Regions from separate parts of the Homo sapiens genome. Here region 1 is linked to region 2. The links are contacts of gene promoters, found by promoter capture Hi-C in blood cells and fetal thymus (Javierre and others, 2016). All regions are on one chromosome and are shown on one strand. The core of a region is centred on a gene start or on the middle of the fragment in contact, and the rest is flanking DNA. Distances in the headings are between cores, read along the strand shown. Region 1 has its middle 100 kb from the start of CLDN14. Region 2 holds the start of RIPPLY3 (ripply transcriptional repressor 3).

Evidence for each region. Contacts are between HindIII fragments. The CHiCAGO score rates a contact against its expected background, and 5 or more counts as called.
Region 1: a contact is called between a fragment that was not itself captured here and the fragment with the promoter of RIPPLY3 in region 2, in 1 of 17 cell types (naive CD4 T cells). The highest score is 6.5, in naive CD4 T cells.

What each region holds. Positions count from the first base shown.
Region 1 is chr21:36,583,208-36,586,806 of GRCh38, forward strand. No RefSeq gene overlaps it. Among named protein-coding and RNA genes, the nearest start is that of CLDN14, 100 kb to the left of the region's middle. The HindIII fragment of the contact is 957 bases long and covers 1,478-2,434 here.
Region 2 is chr21:37,005,435-37,008,683 of GRCh38, forward strand. It overlaps RIPPLY3 (ripply transcriptional repressor 3), which reads left to right and starts at 1,268. Exons shown (of 4, transcript NM_018962.3): 1 at 1,268-1,442; 2 at 2,723-2,789. The coding sequence starts at 1,339. RefSeq lists an enhancer at 609-1,109 and a silencer at 1,333-1,442. The HindIII fragment of the contact is 8,716 bases long and covers 1-2,505 here.

The DNA.
Region 1 (3,599 bases), core at 706-3,205, 420 kb before region 2:
CTTGGCTCATGGCAACATAATTCTAATCTCTGCCTTCATCATCACACGGTATCCTCCATGTCTGTGTCTCCATGTCCAAATTTTCCTCTTGTTATAAGGATACAGTCATACTGGATTTAGGGCCCCCTCTAACCCAGTATGACATTATCTTAACCTGACTACATCCATAAAGAAATACCCTATTTCCAAATGAAGTCACATTCTGAGGTCCCAGGTGGGCATGAATTTTGAGGTGGGGGGGATGCAATTCACACAAGCGTCATCACTTAAGGGTAATGAAGGCCAGAACTTTTGACTTTCTTGGTATAACCAACTTTAATTACAATATCCTGAGTTTTTTCCCCCCAAAGTCACTCTGAAATGACCATCTACCCTTTTCCATTCCATAAACTTAGTCTAATACAGACAGAGCTCAGCTTTCAAATAGAGGAGTTTTCCTGAGCTGCTGCAGGTAAGGGCGCCTGTTTGCAGTGTCTGTTGGCCAGGCCAGGTTGGGGGTGCCCATGGGAAGAAGGAAACCCACAGGATCCCATCCAGGGGAGGGAGCTCATTAGCATAACCCCTGGCTTGCTCTGCCCATCATGCACGTCTAGCATCCTGATTGGTAGGTTTGAAAGGAGACCTGGGTCATGGGCAGTAAGAGGTCCTGCATCTCGATTTACTCTCAGGAGTGACTGGCACTTCCAGGGCTGGGCTCCTCCAAGGATGGGCTCATCCCTGTGGGGTGGAGTAGGGGTCTGTCCAGTTCCGCCACACCCACCCCACCCACCCCCCACGCCCACCCCACCCACCCCCCACGCCCACCCCACCCACCCCCCACGCCAAAATTGGACTTCTGTATTAGGGAGCTTATTTGCCCAAAGATATAAGCCACATTCTCCAACCTAGACTGTCAGTTATAAACGTAGTCTTTGGGCTGGAATAAAGGCAGTCTTTGGGCCAGGCACAGTGGTTCACATCTGTAATCCCAGCACTTTGGGAGGCCAAGGCGGATGGATCTCCTGAGGTCAGGAGTTCAAGACCAGCCTGGCCAACATGGTGAAATCCCGTTTCTACTAAAAATACAAAAATTAGCCAGGTATGGTGGTGGGCACTTGTAATCCCAGCTACTCAGGAGGCTGAGGCAGGAGAATTGCTTGAATTCGGGAGGCGGAGGTTGCAGTGAGCCAGGATCACACCACTGCACTCCAGCCTGGGCGACAGAGCCAGACTCCATCTCAAAAACAACAACAACAACAAAAACGGTCTTTGCGACTCCATTGGCCTCATGCCTTTTTTCACCTTTCATTTGGTTCAGAATTTGGGCAGGAAGAGTGTGCCATTTACCAGACACCCCCAATACCTTGGCAACACACAGGGCTCACTTTGAACACCAATTAACTTCTCAACAGTTCACACACAATCCATGCATGGGAGCCTTATTCCCTTAATACGCCAAAAAATATACCTGAAGCTAAAAATATACCAACCCAAGGCAAGCTTGAACTTTCCATAAAAGGCCATTAAGAGAATTGATTTCATCTCCGGGATTATTGCCCTGTGACAGCTGGTATGCATTCCAAATACAGCAACAAAAGAGAAGGCCACGCTGTAGAAAGGAGTTTAAGTGGAAACCTTCCATACACCAAAATCTCAAAGGAGAGGAAGTTGCTTGCCACCCCCTTGGTTACAGTTCATAGTCATAAAGGCTGTTTCTATAGAATAGACTTCCACGATTATCTATTTGCAAAAATGTACAAACACAGCCAGCATACTCTGTGCCTGTAGAAAGACCTGGATCAATACAAGTAACAGAAGAATGAAGAAAAGAGGAAAAAAAGATTTTATCAAGGCTGTTTACTTTAAGGGTACCTTAAAGACCTGCACAAACACACCTGCTACTTCAGTGCCAGGAAGAACAGAGCAAACATGGCTCTCCTTTAAAAGAAACTGGAGAAAGAGACTTTGCAGCCACAAAACCAGTCACACCAGGAGGCGCTAGCATCTCAGCAAGTGAAAGCATAGAAGCCTCATCTTCAGATCAAAGTTATTTAAAAGGAGCCCAGGATCACACTTCTGAATTAAGCCTACATCACATCGGGGACAGTAACATGTTGAGGAATGTTTAACCACAAACTGGATCACCAGAAGGGAAAAATCTCCTGATTCCTAGCATCTGCCCATTTCTGTGGTGTAAATACTCCCACAGTAGCTGATTTCAAGCTGCCAGCATTGGCAGAGATGTGAAACACCACACCATTGTATAGTATTTCCACCCTCCAGATACAATAGGTGCAAACAACTTCTAGAGCATAGGTACCAGTAAAATGTACTAACACAATCAGGAAGTAAAAAATGCTAAAACAATTAGGAAGTTGAATGTATTAAAACAACTAGGAAGTGATGAGTTTTGAGTATTTATTACTTTTGTGGTAATATAATTTATTTAATTGTAAGCTTATGATTTTAAATTTTTAAATAGTGACTCTTTTAGCTACCAGCTCACAAAATTCCGGCAAATTTTACAATTGGCTCAAGCTGGGGCAAGTCTCCTTCAACCTACCATGGTCTGGGGAGCGTTTTCAAAGTAACAAAGATCTTCCTTTCCCTACCTCAATTGCGGGAGGCCCATTGGGACAAAATGCCCCAGAGGCGACCACATGTGCATATTTTCTTTTCCTTCCTTCCTTCCTTCCTTCCTTCCTTCCTTCCTTCCTTCCTTCCTTCCTTCCTCCCTCCCTCTCTCTTTCTCTCTCTTTCTTTTTCTTTTTTTTCTCGCAGTTTCGCTCTTGTTGCCCAGGCTGGAGTGCAGTGGTGTGATCTTGGCTCACTGCAACCTCCACCTCCTGGGTTCAATCGTTTCTCCTGCCTTAGCCTCTCGAGTAGCTGGGATGACAGGTGCGCCACCATGTCCCGCTAATTTTTTGTATTTTTAGTAGAGACAGGGTTTCACCATGTTGGCCAGGCTGGTCTCGAACTCCTGATCTCAGGTGATCCACCTGCCTCGGCTTCCCAAAGTGCTGGGATTACAGGCGTGAGCCACCATGCCTGGCCATCATGCATATTTTCAAAAGCTCTCCAGTGCAATTCTAATGGACTCCCTGGGTGAGAACCACTGCTGTGTCCCACCCTTCCATGTTACAGAAAGGGAAGCTGAAGTTCAAAAGTTTAAATGTTCTCTCTGTTGGTTAACAGATGACCGAGCTGGAGAATGACTATTAGTTGGGTTCTTTCTCTTCCCCTAGACCTTCCCCCCAACAATTATGTGCAACTTTGGATCTCTTCTGGAAATACTGCACCTTATAAGCACCTTATTTGAAATATTGCAACTATATTAGCAGTATAGGCCATATACCAAAGCCTCATTACTTTAAAAGGAAAAAAAAAAGAGAGATGGGGGGGCAGTCCTACTGTGTTGCTCAGGCTGGTCTTGAACTCCTGGCCTCCGGCGATCCTCCTGCCTCAGCCTCCCGAATAACTGGGACATAGGTGCATTGCATTCAGCTTACTTTTGCATTACCTTAACAATAACCAAAATAAAGTTTACCATAATATCATTTATTTTTAAAAAGGGTTTAACAAGGAAATTCATAGGTAAGCCAAACTAGAAAGGAGACATC
Region 2 (3,249 bases), core at 18-2,517:
TTTCACCATATTGGCCAGACTGATCTCGAACTCCTGACTTCAAGTGATCCATCCACCTGCCTCGGTCTCCCAAAGTGCTGGGATTACAGGTGAGAACCACCGCGCCTGGCCTAGTTCTTCGATTTTTTAACATCCATCACAGTAACTTAAATTATATAAAGTAACTACCCCTGAGGAGCCCGGGGTAGTTGAAGGCCCTCCAGCGCCTTCGGTGTTCTGTCGCAGTGCTCTACGTGTGAAACCGCTTTCTCCCACCCTGGCCGTGCGCTGGTGATGGTGGCAGCGGCGCTCCAGCGACGCCCGGGGAAGTGTCCCCAGGGTCGGGCAAGGTCGCTTCTGCTGGTCGGGAGGCCCTTTCTAAGCCTGGCTGGGGCTAACCGAAGGAGAAGCCCGCCGCTCCAGGCTTTATTAAAAATTCGCATTCTTTCCAAGGCCGCCATCGGTGGGAAGGGTGCGCTCGTAGCACCCCTCTTGCTCGGTTCCATTCCTGGCCTTCTGTCTCCTGGAAGGGTCGCCGCGCCCCACCCCACCCGCTTCGCCACGGGTTCGAGCCCTGGCGTCGGGGCGTCCGGGAGCCCACTGTCCAGCACCGAAGGCAAGGCCGGTGCACGCGGACCCGAGGATTCGGTAGATGTCCCCGAAGACCCGCTGCCGCTCTAAGGCGGTGGAAGCGAGATTCTCCGGAAACCCAGGGAATCCGATGCTCGCACAGGACCAAAGCCCGAGGCCGCGGGGACCACAGAGGGACGGAGAAGCCGGGACTCCTCACATCCCACATCCGGCAGGGGAAGCCCAGCAGGTGAGCGCAGGTCCCCCCAGTCCCCGAGGGAGTGCGCCCGACGGAAACGCCCCTAGCCCGCGGGCCTCGCTTTCCTCTCCCGGGTTCCTGGGTCACTTCCCGCTGTCTCCAGCCCGAGCTCGTGGCCCCAATCCCTGGTACCTCCATCCTCTGGTCACCCCTTCTCTGGTGCCCCCTCCCCGACTTTTCTTTGTCCCGTCCCCACCCTTGCCCGGGCCTGCCGGACCCCCCTCCTTGACACCCGGCGCCACCTCCTTGAGCTTTTCTCGTCTCCTCCCCATCCCCGGCTCCCTGGTCCCCTCCCGGAACTTCTCTGGTCCCCTCCGCTCCTCCGACCCGGGCTTTTCCTTCGTACCCTGCGGCCCCCTCCGCACCCCTCACGGAGCTCCTCGGGTCCTGCCCCCTCCCAGCGCTTGCCCGCGCCGCCCCGCCCCCGTTTTTAAACCTGGCGCGCGGGTAGGTGAGCGCGTTAGCCCGAGTGGATCTAGGCGCGCTCGTAGGCCGGCGCCGCAGCAAGGGGCGCGGGCTCCGCCGGCACCATGGAGCCCGAAGCGGCGGCCGGAGCCCGGAAGGCGCGGGGGCGCGGCTGTCACTGCCCCGGGGACGCTCCCTGGAGGCCTCCGCCACCGCGCGGGCCGGAGAGGTGAGGGTGGCCCCGCGCCCCGGTGGACGCGCTGAGAGGCGTGCGCGGTGGCGGTGCGGGGAGCGCAGCGAGCGGGAGGCTGGGGCGCTGCTGAACCCCCGATCCCCAGCGGAGCTCCGGAGCTCGACGGCGACGCCAAGCAAGCTCCTGAGCCGGCAGCCGGGTTCCCGGGAGGGGCGCTCAGTTCTCCGGTTCCAACGCACAGCTCTGAAGTGCGGAGGCCCAGGATGTAGCTGGCCAGGAAAGGGGCCGACGCTTCCGTGTAGAGGAGATCTCAGTTAGCCAGCCGGGGACACTGCAGTCTCGGGCTCCTAAGCCAGCCTTGCAAAGGCAATCTCTCACCTTGCTACTTTCTCGGTAGCCGTTTCTGTTGTCCCTGGATTGGGGGCTCGGCGTTCGCTGTCCCTGGGCACCAACCCTTTTAAAGACAGTAACGTTGTAGGAAATCAAATTAGCCAGGGAGGTAGGGAAGGGACCGGGTAGGCCGGATGGGCCAGGTAGCCAGGCAGGAGAAAGATTCCCTCTTTTTTTTTTTTTTTTTTTTTTTTTTGAGACAGGGTCTCACTGTGTCGCCCAGGCTGGAGTGCAATGGCGTGATCTCGGCTCACGGGAACCTCCGCCTCCCGGGTTCAAGCGATTTTCCTGCCTCAGCCTCCTGAGTAGCAGGGATTACACGCGCCTGCCACCACGCCCGGCTAATTTTTGTATTTTTAGTAGAGACTGGGTTTCGCCATGTTGGCCAGGCTGGTCTCGAACTCCTGACCTCGAGTGATCCAGTAACCTCAGCCTCCCAAAGTGCTGGGATTACAGGTGTGAGCCACCGCGCCCAGCCCCCTTTTTTTGTTTGTTTGTTTTTCATCCTACAACTCTGTAAAATCATCTCTGTAGAATCAATCTCCTTCCGTGACCAAGGTGGTGTGATTGAAATTAACCGGGGACAAAGTAGACAGCTATAGTTGGGGAACCCCGAATTGAACAATTCAGCCAGGATTTGCAGGGAGAGAAATCTCTCAACTAATGGGTTCCCTGATAATTGTGTGAGATTCGGGACCTCCCTTCTCAAAGCTTAACTGGAGACAGAGAACTGGGGACGTAGCAGGAGAGAAAAAACACAAATGACAGTAATTTATCCACAGCCCTGAGAACTCCAGGGAAAGTTCCTGGGGGGTCCGGTGCCTCTTTTTCAGGCAGACACTGGAACTAAGAATAGCTCTCATGGCATAGTTTGAAGGCAGCAGAAGTGCCCAGGGTTCACTCTCTCCTGGCGCTTGCCGTTCCAGCCCCGCGCCGTGGCGACCTTGGATCCAGACACCTGGAGATGCTGAGCTGACCAGAACTGGAAGGCCGGTAAGGTTCAGTGCGGGCGTTGTAGGTAACCCTTCCAGCCAGAAAGTGGCATCGTCTTTTAAAATACAGGGACCGTGAATGGCCTTCTGCGCAGGGCCGTCCCTTGGGCGTCTAACCCAGGAGCGCCTCGGGGTCTGGGAGTTGGAACCTGAATGAGTAAGGTGTTAATCAGACCTGACTCGCATTATAGATTGGGCTCCTGGTGGCTTCTCCTTCCTAAAAAAGCATACCCACTATAAAAGCATAATCGTAGGCTGGGCGCGGTGGCTCGGGCCTGTAATCTCAGCACTTTGGGAGGCCGAGACGGGTGGATCACCTGAAGTCAGGAGTTCGTGACCAGCCTGGCCAAGATGGCGAAACCCCGTCTCTACTAAAAATATAAAAATTAGCTGGGCATGGTGGCAGGCGCCTGTAATCCCAGCTACTTAGGAGGCCGAGGCAGGAGAATCGCTTGAACCCG